Regions from separate parts of the Homo sapiens genome. Here all the other regions are linked to region 1. The links are contacts of gene promoters, found by promoter capture Hi-C in blood cells and fetal thymus (Javierre and others, 2016). All regions are on one chromosome and are shown on one strand. Each heading gives the region's core, a stretch centred on a gene start or on the middle of the fragment in contact. The rest is flanking DNA. Distances are from core to core; before and after follow the strand shown.

Region 1 (3,837 bases), core at 101-2,600:
TGCGCAACATGGGACCTGGGAGCAGGACACCGCAAAGAGCAGACCAAGCCATTCCTTCCCTAAAGCCCTGACCATCCCCCGGACTGGGCTGGGTCAAAATGCCTTCCCTGGCTCCCACAGCCCCCAGACCTCTCCATCAGGGGTCTGGTCACCTTGGATGGCGACTCTGTCGCCCGGGTCTCAGTCTCTGCCTTCCACCCAGACTCCAAGCCCTTGTTCATCTCCCTGCTCCCTGTCTCTAGTGCCCGGCACAGGGCCTGGCACTGGAAAAACTTCTGCCTCCACTCACTCCTGCCTTCTGTGTCTGTGGGTCACTTTTCTGTGCGACTCTGCAGGTCCCAGAGCACTCATCCACATGAATTGGGGTCAGCTCCCTGGACTGGGGGTCGGGGTGGGGTGTCAGGAGGGCGGGGCTCCACTCTGATCCACTCGGCACAGGGGAGGGAGGCCTCAGGAGTCGCCACCCGATCCAGTCCCCGCCTTCGCCCTGCCCCGTGGGCCACGCGGTGGCTGACCTTGGCCCAGTCACTTCCCCCGCTGGGGACGCGCTTCCTCCCCGCCTGCCGAGCAAGGACGAATGAATGGGCCTCCTGCCGGCCAGAATCCCCGTAATTACCCGCCTGATCAAAGGCCACGCGCAGCCCGCCCGGGGCAGCAACGGGACCCGGGCTGACTCGAAAAGGGGAAGGAAGGGCTGGGGGGGCCGAGGGCTGAGACCGTGCCCTCGGGGCCGCGGTATCCGGCCAGGCCAGCCCAACCGCGCGGCCCCTTCCCCCACCTGGGCCTCAACTTCCCCCCGAAGTCGCCACCACTTCCGGCCACGACCGGCGGAGTTGGAACTTCGGGGGGACGGACAGCGGCCCCACCCCCGACGGCCCGCAGCAGAGGGACCCCCACCGAGGCCCCCGCTCCTGCCCCCGCCACGCGCACGCGCGCGCCCTGGACCCGGACCCGCGCACGCGCACCCCCCCTCCAGCCCCGCTCGCCGCCCGCGGGCCGCCCGGGCGCGCGTCCCCTCCCACAGCTCTTCGGCGCGCACGCGCACTCCCCCCGCCCGCGTCACCCCGGCCGCGCGCCCACTCACGCCCCCCCAGCAGCGCGCACGCGCGCCCGCCGCCCAGTCGCGCTCGCCCTCCAGTCTCCCCACCCACCCCCAGCCCAAGCCCAGCTTCCCGAAGCGCGCGCCCACCTGGCCCCCAGCGCACGGCCCCCGCCCCCACCCCTCACCTCCTTGGTCCCGGGGCCGCCGCGCCGCACTCCTCCTCCTCTCTCCTGCCTCGCGGATGGTGGCAGCGGCGGCAGCGGCGACTCAGACCCTGGGGTCAGGGGGACGGGCGCCCAGGCCGGAAGTGACCTTCCCGGCCGCTTCCGCCCGCGCCGCTCCCCCCCTTCTCCCTACTCCCTGCCCCCCGGGCCGCCACCCTGTCCTCGCCGCTCTAGGAAGGCGAGCCCGCTATCCCGGCCACCGCCCCCAGCTCTGTGGTGCCCGGCGGGCGCCTGAGGGAGCCACTTCCGGAAGTGTCTAGGACGCAGGTCCTCCGTCCATGCTCTATGGCGCCCCGCGCCGAGGGGCTTCGGCCCCGCCCCCTTCCCGGACAGGAGGTGCGGGCTGGGCCCGTTAGGCGGAGACTTCCGGGTGTCTAGGGCGGTGCCCCCCCGACAACCCGGGCTCCTCGCGCCTGCGCGGCCGGGTCCCCGGGCCCGCCGTGAGGAGAGTGAAGTGGTGGAGAGGGACGCTCGTGCCACCCCGGGTCCTCCTACCGTCTCTATCATGGTAACCCCTTCTCTGCCGCTGCACCTCCCAGTGGCCCGAGTCCAGGTGCCTTAGTTACTGGACAGAGACCCCGGGTTCCTTAGTTACTGGACAGAGAGTGCTGCGCTTCAGGTGCCATGGCCTCAGTTTCCTCCTTTCTGAAGTGATGAAAATACATTGTGCGCCTCCAAGTGCTTCACACGCACTAGGTCCTAGTCCTAACTAGGGCCTCATGGTAGGTCCTATCCCTATGTTGCAGGTGAGGAGTCAAATCACCTACCAAAAGTCACACACCCGGAATGCCAGAGCCTCGGCCCGAACCCATGGAGTTTGGCTCTAAATTCGTGTATTTAACCCTTGACTGTACACACTGCCTCGTGTCATAGCCCTGAGAATCCACTACTTCCCCCGCGTTAGGTAGGCACCTAGTAAGGACGCACTGGGTGTTAGCTGTTACTGTTGGTATTCTTGCAAAAAACACATATTTTAAAATAATTGTCCAAACCATAGTGTCCTTGTAGGCTGGTCCTTCTGGTCCTTCCTCTGTTCTGTACTTGGCTGACTCTCACCTAAGTGGCAGATGACTTATCGCTTATAATTGTTATCATCCTCACTGGTAGTCAGAAAAGATAAGAAGCTATAATTCACTGGTGGAATAACACCTTTCTCAGCCTCAATTTCTCATCTGTGGAATGGGAAAAAATAAGATAACCTGCAAGGTAATATGTGTAAGAGCTGCTTAGTTCAATACCTGGCCCATAGTAAGTTCACAAAAATGATGGTGGTTATTATTACCTATTAGCAGTGTTACATATAAGTCTATTGTTGTGGCCACTGTATACCCTCAAAGCTCAGTGAGCATCAATCATAAGATGTATATTATTGATTTAATAACATCTTTCCATGGGGTGGGGTGAACAGTGCTGTGTTAACTGTGTGTGTCAATAGGAGGATATCTGTGTCCCTCCTTCAGAAATATCACAAAGGTAAATTTTTAAATATATCTTAGAACAGAAGGAAGTGTGGCCGGGTGCAGTGGCTGACACCTGTAAATCTCAACACTTTGGGAGGCAGAGGCAGACGTCAGGAGGTCAGGAATTCGAGACTACCCTGGCCAACATAGTGAAACCCCATATCTATTAAAAATACAAAAATTAGCTGGGCGTGGTGGCGGACACCTGTAATCCCAGCTACTCGGGAGGCTGAGGCAGGAGAATGGCTTGAACCTGGGAGGCAGAGGTTGCAGTGAGCTGAGATCGCACCACTGCACTCTTGCCTGGGCGATGGAATGGGACTCCGTCTCAAAAAAAAAAAAAAAAAAAAGAGAGTGAAGTGCTATCATAACAGCAATAGAAACAAATTATTAGGGTACAAACTCTACACGAGGAAACCTGTTTATAAGAAAAGTCATGTGCTTGTGCTCCTCTGAATCAGATCATTCAGTGGGTGTCCTGCAGTGACCTGGTTGTTGGGAGGGACAGCCTCCTCCCTCTCCAGCCCATTCCCCTTCTTCGCTGGTCAAATTGACAACGGCAAGATCGAGAACAGCTCATTGGCACACCAGATGGAAGCCAACACTGAGGATGGAGGAGAAACAAGACACAGGGAGCCAGCTAGACACTGGATGGCTTCGTGAAAGAGGCTCCGTGCCAGCTGAGATTTTATGTGAGAGAAATCACTTTCTAACTCACTGAAACCATTGGTAATTCTGAGTCTCTCCCTTAAGGCAACCCAACCAATACCAGGATGTTTCCCAAACATGGGATGGGTTGCAGCCGACATGGCTTAATTGACAATTAACATCTGTTCTTCCCTTCCGCAGTACAAAATCACTCTTGGGATGCTGCTTCCCATCGATGGATTCTGTTTTCCACTCCTCTTGGCATCTAAGTGTGGCCTTGTGATTGGTTCTCACCAATGGGATGGGATGGAAGCGATACAGGCCTCTTCCGAGCCAATGCTCTTAAGAAACATGTATGTTGGCCAGGCACGGTGGCTCACGCCTATAATCACAGCACTTTGGGAGGCCGAGACGGGAGGATCAGCTGAGTCCAGGAGTTCGAGACCAGCCTGGCCAACATGGC
Region 2 (3,690 bases), core at 297-2,796, 2.0 Mb after region 1:
TCAAGAAATAACCATAAAAATGGGCGACCAGCAGTTCTTGGGGCTGCTCTATCTATGGAGTAGCCATTTTTTTATTCCTTTACTTTCTTAATAAGCTTGCTTTCACTTTACTCTATGGACTCGCCCTGAATTTTCTTTCCCAAGATATAAGAACCCTCTGTTGGGTTATAGCTCGGGACCCCCTTTCTGGTAACACCTATGCATGTGTCTCAGGCAGGGAGAAGATAAAGATAAAGCTAATGTGGCAAAAAGTGTTAATAATTTTAGAATCTGGATGGTTTTAGAAGTGTTAAACTATTCCTGCAACTTCTATGCAAATGCGGAACTTTTCAAAATGAAAAGTTGGGTGAAGAGAGAGGTAAACAAGCAGTAGAATGGAGGAAAGTCACTTGCTGTGGGAAAAAAGAAAAAACAGACAAAAACTGGGTATTCAAAACGTACTTCAACAAGCCCAAGTTCCTATAGCCAAATTTTTTAACTTGGCAAAAAATAAAGGACCTTTTCAGGCTGATGGTAATTTTAATAAAGGTTTAGGTTGCATTTGTCAAAATTCATCAATGGTACAGGGAATATCTGTGCATTTCACTGAAAGTCAATTTTGGCTCAAAAAATTTAAAAAAGCACTACTGAACTCTAATTCATGGTAAGCATAGTGAGGTGTTTGAGGGAGAAGTGTTGTGATATCTGCAACTTACTTTGAAATGTTTCCAAAAATAGGTGGATTAATGAATGGCTGAAAGGATGGACAGAAGGAAAGATAAGGGATACAGTAAGTTCAGCAGACGTTAACCGGGTCGTTCACTGCACAAGTCTTTCAGCTTCTCTATCTAAACCAACATTTTATGTCATAAAATATTGAGACTGGAAGACTGCACAAAGGAAATATGCCACTAAACCAAGGGAAAAGACAGCAAAATGGTCACTAAACACGTGCAAAAATGCGGCCCTCACTGAGAATTGCAGTAAAACATGATTTTGCAAATATCAAATGGAAAAACACACAGGTGATCTAACACCTTCGAGACTCAAGGGGAAGCGGCTCAGCCCACTGGCTCACGGCCGCCAATTCAGCCGGAGGCCGACCCAAGCCTACACTGCCCCTCACACCTGACAGAAAAGCTGCAGACTCGGGGGTTACCCCCGGAGACGGACCAGGACACCCAGCAGGCGTGGCAAAACAGTCTCTATGGGAGGGCGGGCTAGAGATGCGAGCGCGGAACTCACGGGTGACGCTAAGGAAAGAGCGGGGGCGTCCAGACCAGCCCCGGAGCGACCTCGTCCTCAGAGGAGTGACCCCAATCGCCACGGAGCGTCCCCACCCACCAGGAGAACTACGCCCCTGGCCAGACCCTCGCCCTAGCGGGCCCGACATGCCCACCACCCAGGTGAAACCCACCCGCGGACGCGCCCCTCGCCGCCCCACAAGGACCCGGCGGACCTCCACCCGCCAAGACTTCCCTCCGCAGGAAACGGAGGCAGCGCAGGGCTCAGGGATGCGTCGGCACTTACGGTTGGCGGCCGGCGGCAGCCATGTTCCGGGCGATTGCGCTTGCGCGGCTGCCGGGACAAGGATGTGCGCGTGCGCGGAGTCCCCGAGCTTCCCCCGCCCAACGCTGGGGCGGCCGCGGGTACCGGGTTATTCATTACCCTGGCGTGGACTTGCCTCGGGGCGGACGCGCAGGCATTTACTTTCTCCTATGGTCTCCTCTGATTTTTAACCCGATGCTATCATTCTTTTGTTATAGAGCCTTCCTTTTATTTACTGCATAATTTCCTAAAATATTTCTTTATCTATAATCTTTTTTTGAGATAATAATGTTAAAATTCAGAATAAGTACACTCATTATTCATTGGCAATATAATTATTTACTGGGTGCGTGGCTCACGCCTGTAATCCCAGCATTTTGGGAGGCCTAATTTGTTAAAATGACTAGATCTAAGAAATGTAAACAAAGCCAGTAACTTTCCTCTGTAGTAACAATAGCCGGTTGAAAATGAAAACTACACATTTTCATTCTTTCAGTGGTTCTCTTAAACTTTAGCATGGGGAAGCCTAAATATTTACTGACAGGGAAGAGAGAAACTGTGGTATGTGCAACGGAGCAATAGGGGGTGGTTAAAACAAACGGACTGGGCTCACCTAAGGTCAGGAGTTTGAGACCAGCCTGGCCAACATGGTGAAACCCCGTCTCCACTAAAAATACAAAAATTAGCTAGGCGTGGTGGCAGGCGCCTGTAATCCCAGCTCCTCGGGAGGCTGAGGCAAGAGAATCACTTGAACCTGGGAGGCGGAGGTTGCAGTGAGCTGAGATCGTACCATCACACTCCAGCCTGGGGGACAAGAGGGAGACTTCGTCTCAAAAAAAAAAAAAAAAAAAAGGACTAACTTATATACAAGATAGACAGTTCTCCAAAAACAGTTCGAAAAGTAAACTGTGCACTTATCCACATGATACAACTTACCTGGAAATAAAAGACACAAAATCTATATGTTATACAGAGATTGATACATAAGTAGTAAAGTAACAATAACATGGACCAGATAGATTGTCCAACCTCAAGAAAGTGGCAACTGAGGGGAAAGAGTTGGGGAGGAGACAAAGGAGACCTCAGTTACACCTGTGATGCTTGATAGGAAAAAACAAATCAAAACCTGAAAATCTGACTACATGTTAACACAGGTAAAATCTCGATGATACATGGGTGTCATCTTTATTATTTATAGATTATTCTATTACTCTCCGAACCTCTCCGCAGGTTGAAATACTTCACAATTTTGAAATGAAAATTAGAAAAAAAATTCTAAGCCATAATAGTGATTAAATTGTCACTCACAATAGTGATGGTTGGAGCAACTTGGAAATCAATTAGCAAAAGCAATAAAGGATCTTCATGAAGAAAATACAAAAACCTCATTAACAGACCTGAAGTTAAGTTCAGAACACACTGACATATTATTCCTGAATGGAAAGTATTTTTTTAATTTCTCCATGAAGGCCGTATCAGACCAGGCACAGTGGCTCATGCCTGTAATTCCAACTCTTTGGGAAGCCGGGCTGGGGGGATCACCTGAGGTCAGGAGTTCAAGATGAGCCTGGCCAACATGGTGAAACCCCATCTCTAAAAATATAAAAATTGGCTGGGCACAGTGGCTCATGCCTGCAATCCTAGTACTCGGTCTCAAAAAAAAAAAAAAAATCTTCACAAAACTACTAAACAAAAGTATAGCAATTCCAATTCAAAGACTCCCCCCGCCCCCAGCTCACAGAATAAAACAACTTAAAGATCATATGGAGAAAAGTCCAACAGTATCTGGTTAAAAGAACAGTCGGAGACCGGACGCGGTGGCTCACAACTGTAATCCCAGCACTTTGGGAGGCCGAGGCAGGTGGATCACTTGAGGTCAGGAATTCAAGACCAGCCTGGCAAACATTGTGAAACCTGTCTCTACTAAAAATACAAAAATTAGCCGGGGGTGGTGGCGGGTGCCTATAATCCTAGCTACTCCGGAGGCTGAGGCAGGAGAATTGCCTGAATCCTGGAGGCGGAGGTTGCAGTGAGCTGAGATCGTGCCACTGCACTCCAGCCTGGGTGACAGCTATACTCTCGTCTCAAAAAAAAAAGTCAGGCACCCTTTATTAGATACTAAAATGTACCATATTAAGCAGATGGGCTCAAATAGGCACTAAT
Region 3 (3,657 bases), core at 701-3,200, 2.5 Mb after region 1:
CTCATAGAGGGTACCAGGTCAGGTATCTGAGGCCAGTGTCTGCCCCTGGTGAAGAAATAGGATGAGGCTGTTGCAAAAGGAGTACAGTGAATGCTTCACTGCCTAGTCTATGCTGTACCGTTTGATCCTCAGACCTACCCCATGTGGAAGGCAGATGAGGAAACAGGCAAAGAAAGGCCATCTACAACCCACAGACTTATGCAGCTGGAAGCCCTCCCTTAGCCACCTGTATCCCTGGTCTTCTCTCCGCTTGGGCCTGTGCAAAGTCTCTGACAGTCTCCCTGCTCCAAACACAGGCTTTTTTTTCTTTTCTTTGAGACATGCTGTCAGTCAGTTGCCCAGGCTGAAGTGCAGTGGCGAGATCATGCGTCACTGCAGACTTGACCTCCCGGGCTCCAGAGATCGGCCTCCCAAGTAGCTGAGACAACAGGTGTGTGCCACGACATCCGGCTAATTTCTTAATTTTTCTGTAGGGATGGGATCTTACTATGTTGCCTAGGCTGTTCTTGAACTCCTGGGCTCAAGCAGATGATCCTCTTACCTTGACCTCCCGAAGTGCTGGGACTTACAGGTTTGTTCCACCATGCCAGCCCACAGGCTGTTTTTTAGGACTAGAAGACACTTCTCTCCCCTGTATCCTTCCCTTCTTCTACATGTGCAACCTCATTCCTGCGCTACAGCTCTCTCTTTACCAGGTGGATGGCACCTATACACCTACAGCCTGGGCATCAGCATCACTGCTGGCGTCTCCCCCTACCCAACGCCAGCCCTTACTTCACCTTCTATTCTCTCATCTACTTCGATGTGGCTCCTCATTTGGGCCCCACCATCATTCCCCTCCCTGCTTGGAAGCCTCACTCCACCTAATCCTCCATGTCAACCTGTGCAGTCACTTGTATGGCTCAGCTCCCAGGCAGCACCCTCTCTCCCTACTCAGCCCCATCTTCTAAGCCCAACATCACACTACGCAATGCCCCATCTCAGCTTCCTGATTTAGCTGGGGTTGGAAGGGGATGGGGGAGCTTCGCAATGGGTGGGGGGGCGGCAAAGGCTCCAAGACTGCCGGAACAGGAGCCTGCAAGGAAGTCCCGAGACTCTGATTCCGCCCATCTTCAGATCACTGTGCCTTCGAGAACTTGTTTCCCCATTTGCAAGTGGGGCTGACCTCCCTCCTCGCGCTGTTCCTTCTGCAGCTGCGGCTTTAGGAAGGAATCTGCGTTTATGAAGGGGATGGCACCGCAGAATCATTCCCCCGTGGGTGGCATCGATTTCGAGGGCCGCCTCATCCTGGGGGCCAAGCCTCCACTCTTCAAGGTGCCAAGTCAACCTGAAACCCTGGGAGAGACTTGGGTCATAGCCAAGATGGCAGGTACCTACGGAGGGTCCCGAAATACACTTCCCAGAAGTCCAGGCGGCAACTTCCGCTCCAGGGTGCCAAGGTAGGTCCAGACGACGCCTAGGCAACCGGGGGCGGGGCTCCCAAAGCCTGTCGTCGTGGCAACGAGTAGTGATTGACAAGCCTCTCGCTCTAGCCCTGGGCGCTCCCGCAAGGACTGCCCGGATTCGTTCCCCGCGCTTCCGGTCTCACTGGGGAGCCGGAATCCCCGAGTCTGCAGCCACCGCCCCCGTCCACACGATAGCCCTCCCGGTTAAGAGGACCCCGCCCTCACCTCTGCGCTCAGCGGGCCGCTCCGCGCTCCTGAGCACGCGCAGTCTTCGACTTCCCCCTCCCGCTGGACTACGTCTCCCAGGATGCTCCGCGCACCAGCTCGAGCGCCTCCTTGCCCTTCCCCCACCCTCGTCCCCGTTTCTACACCCTCTCCTCCCTTCCCCTAGCGGTGGTCGCAATGATCAGGTCATACTCCTGGCCGCTTCTTCCCATGCTCCCCGCCTCGAATCCGTGCGTCGGCATGCGCAAGCCTCTCAGGTACAACAGACGGCAGCACCGCCTACCAGATCGCGCATGCCCCCCACCACGTTTTCCTCACTTCTCTACGGGCCTTCCTGAGATTAGCAGGATCCTGCACCAATCACGGCCGTCATTAGAACTCCGTCGGTGCCCCACCGCGTCTCCATGGCAACTCCCTACAGGAAGGGGCCTCTGCTACTTCCTAGACCGCAAAATGGAGAAAGGCTTGGCCCGATGCTTTCCGGCAGATGTAGTCAGCAGGCCCTTCGTGTGTACGTGCGCGCGCGGCGCGATGACGTTCCTCTGTGATCATGGGCGAGGGGCGGGCCCTGAACGTCTCCATGGTAACCTGGGGACACGACTCGACATCGCCTGGGTAACCCGGAGACGCGGCGGGCGTTGAAAATGCAATGGGGCATGTGGGATGAAGAGGTGGGGAAGGGTACTGGGGCAGAGAGATGCCGATCGATAGAAACAGCGAGGAGAGACGGAGAGAGACCAGAGACTCAAGGGCAAAGAGAGACGAAGGACCGGCGGGAGGAAGAGAGAGAGAGACAGAGAGACAGACTCACAGACTGGGAGGACCGGAGACTCGACGCGAGGAGAGACAGTGAAAATAAGTGAACAAACATAGAGACACGGGTCCAAGTTATAAGAGGGCTGAGTGGATCAGAGGGTCAGGGCCGGGCAAACAGGTGTCAGAACAGTTAGCAAGAGAGAGGCAGATCAGAAAGGGATGCAGATGAAAGAGACACAAAGAAGGAAACGCAGAATGGGTTCACAGAGACAAGAAATGCAGATATCCAGACTCAAGAGGTAGACAAGAAGGGAGAGGGACAGAAACAAGAAGGGAGAAAAGGGACAGAAATTAGAGATACAGTAAGATGGATTGACAGTTTTCGAAGACCTAGAGAAAGATGACAGCACGAAGAGAGACAGGGAGAATCCGAGGTAAAACTGTTAGGAAAACTTAGGAGTCCAGATGCTGTCCAGTTATATGCTACCCTGTACAGGTTGATAGGTTGCAAATGCTTTCTGTCCAGTGTATCGCTTTGTAGCTCACTAAGCAGTTTTGTATCCAACTTTGTGCTTTTATTTCAGTGTTTTTCTTTTTCTTTCTTTCTTTTTTTTTTTTTTTTTTTTGACGGAGTCTCGCTGTTGCCAGACTGGAGTGCAGTGGCACGATCTCGGCTCACTGCAACCTCCGTCTCCCAGGTTCAAGCGATTCTCCTGCCTCAGCCTCCCGAGTAGCTGGGACTGCAGGCTGCTCCACCACACCCGGCTGATTTTTGTATTTTTAGTAGAGATGGGGTTTTACCATGTTGGCCAGACTGGTCTTGACCTCCAGACCTCTGGTGATCCGCCCACCTCGGCCTCCCAAATTGCTGGAATTACAGGTGTGAGCCACCGCGGCCGGCCAGTGTTTATTCTTCCTTTCCTGTCTTCCTAGAATCATCTTGCTGCTTCCCTCAGTACGGTAAATAAATCTTTTGACACATGCTCACTGAGAGTCATGTTTTTAACTGTTTTGAAATTATATTTGGCAGTCTGAAGGGAACCTGTTCTCCGGGCTAGGGGACAAACAGGGAAAAAGAAAATAGTGGCCGGGCGCGGTGGCTCACGCCTGTAATCCTAGCACTTTGGGAGGCCGAGGCGGGCGGATCACGAGGTCAGGAGATCGAGACCATCCCGGCTAAAACGGTGAAACCCCGTCTCTACTAAAAATACAAAAAATTAGCCGGGCGTAG

Evidence for each region. The method cuts DNA at HindIII sites, captures the fragments that hold promoters and counts their contacts. A CHiCAGO score of 5 or more calls a contact.
Region 2: a contact is called between the fragment with the promoter of ZNF329 here and the fragment with the promoter of ZNF787 in region 1, in 2 of 17 cell types (neutrophils and naive CD8 T cells). The highest score is 9.3, in neutrophils.
Region 3: a contact is called between the fragment with the promoter of MZF1 here and the fragment with the promoter of ZNF787 in region 1, in 1 of 17 cell types (neutrophils). The highest score is 6.7, in neutrophils.

Annotation. Positions count from the first base shown.
Region 1 is chr19:56,119,945-56,123,781 of GRCh38, forward strand. ZNF787 (zinc finger protein 787) reads right to left here and starts at 1,351. Exons shown (of 3, transcript NM_001002836.4): 1 at 1,228-1,351. LOC124904772 (a long non-coding RNA gene) reads left to right here and starts at 1,666. Exons shown (of 2, transcript XR_007067348.1): 1 at 1,666-1,988; 2 at 3,576-3,837. RefSeq lists enhancers at 396-690, 1,118-1,833 and silencers at 438-487, 568-887, 1,178-1,257, 1,268-1,387, 1,478-1,847. The HindIII fragment of the contact is 11,888 bases long and covers 1-3,837 here.
Region 2 is chr19:58,149,243-58,152,932 of GRCh38, forward strand. It overlaps ZNF329 (zinc finger protein 329), which reads right to left and starts at 1,547. Exons shown (of 4, transcript NM_024620.4): 1 at 1,510-1,547. RefSeq lists an enhancer at 1,624-1,683. The HindIII fragment of the contact is 7,703 bases long and covers 94-3,690 here.
Region 3 is chr19:58,571,385-58,575,041 of GRCh38, forward strand. MZF1 (myeloid zinc finger 1) reads right to left here and starts at 1,951. Exons shown (of 6, transcript NM_198055.2): 1 at 1,671-1,951; 2 at 1-45. The coding sequence starts at 5. MZF1-AS1 (MZF1 antisense RNA 1) reads left to right here. Exons shown (of 6, transcript NR_027334.2): 4 at 474-571; 5 at 1,194-1,439; 6 at 1,533-3,413. RefSeq lists enhancers at 656-1,517, 1,518-2,377, 1,746-1,835, 1,896-2,325. The HindIII fragment of the contact is 12,442 bases long and covers 1-3,657 here.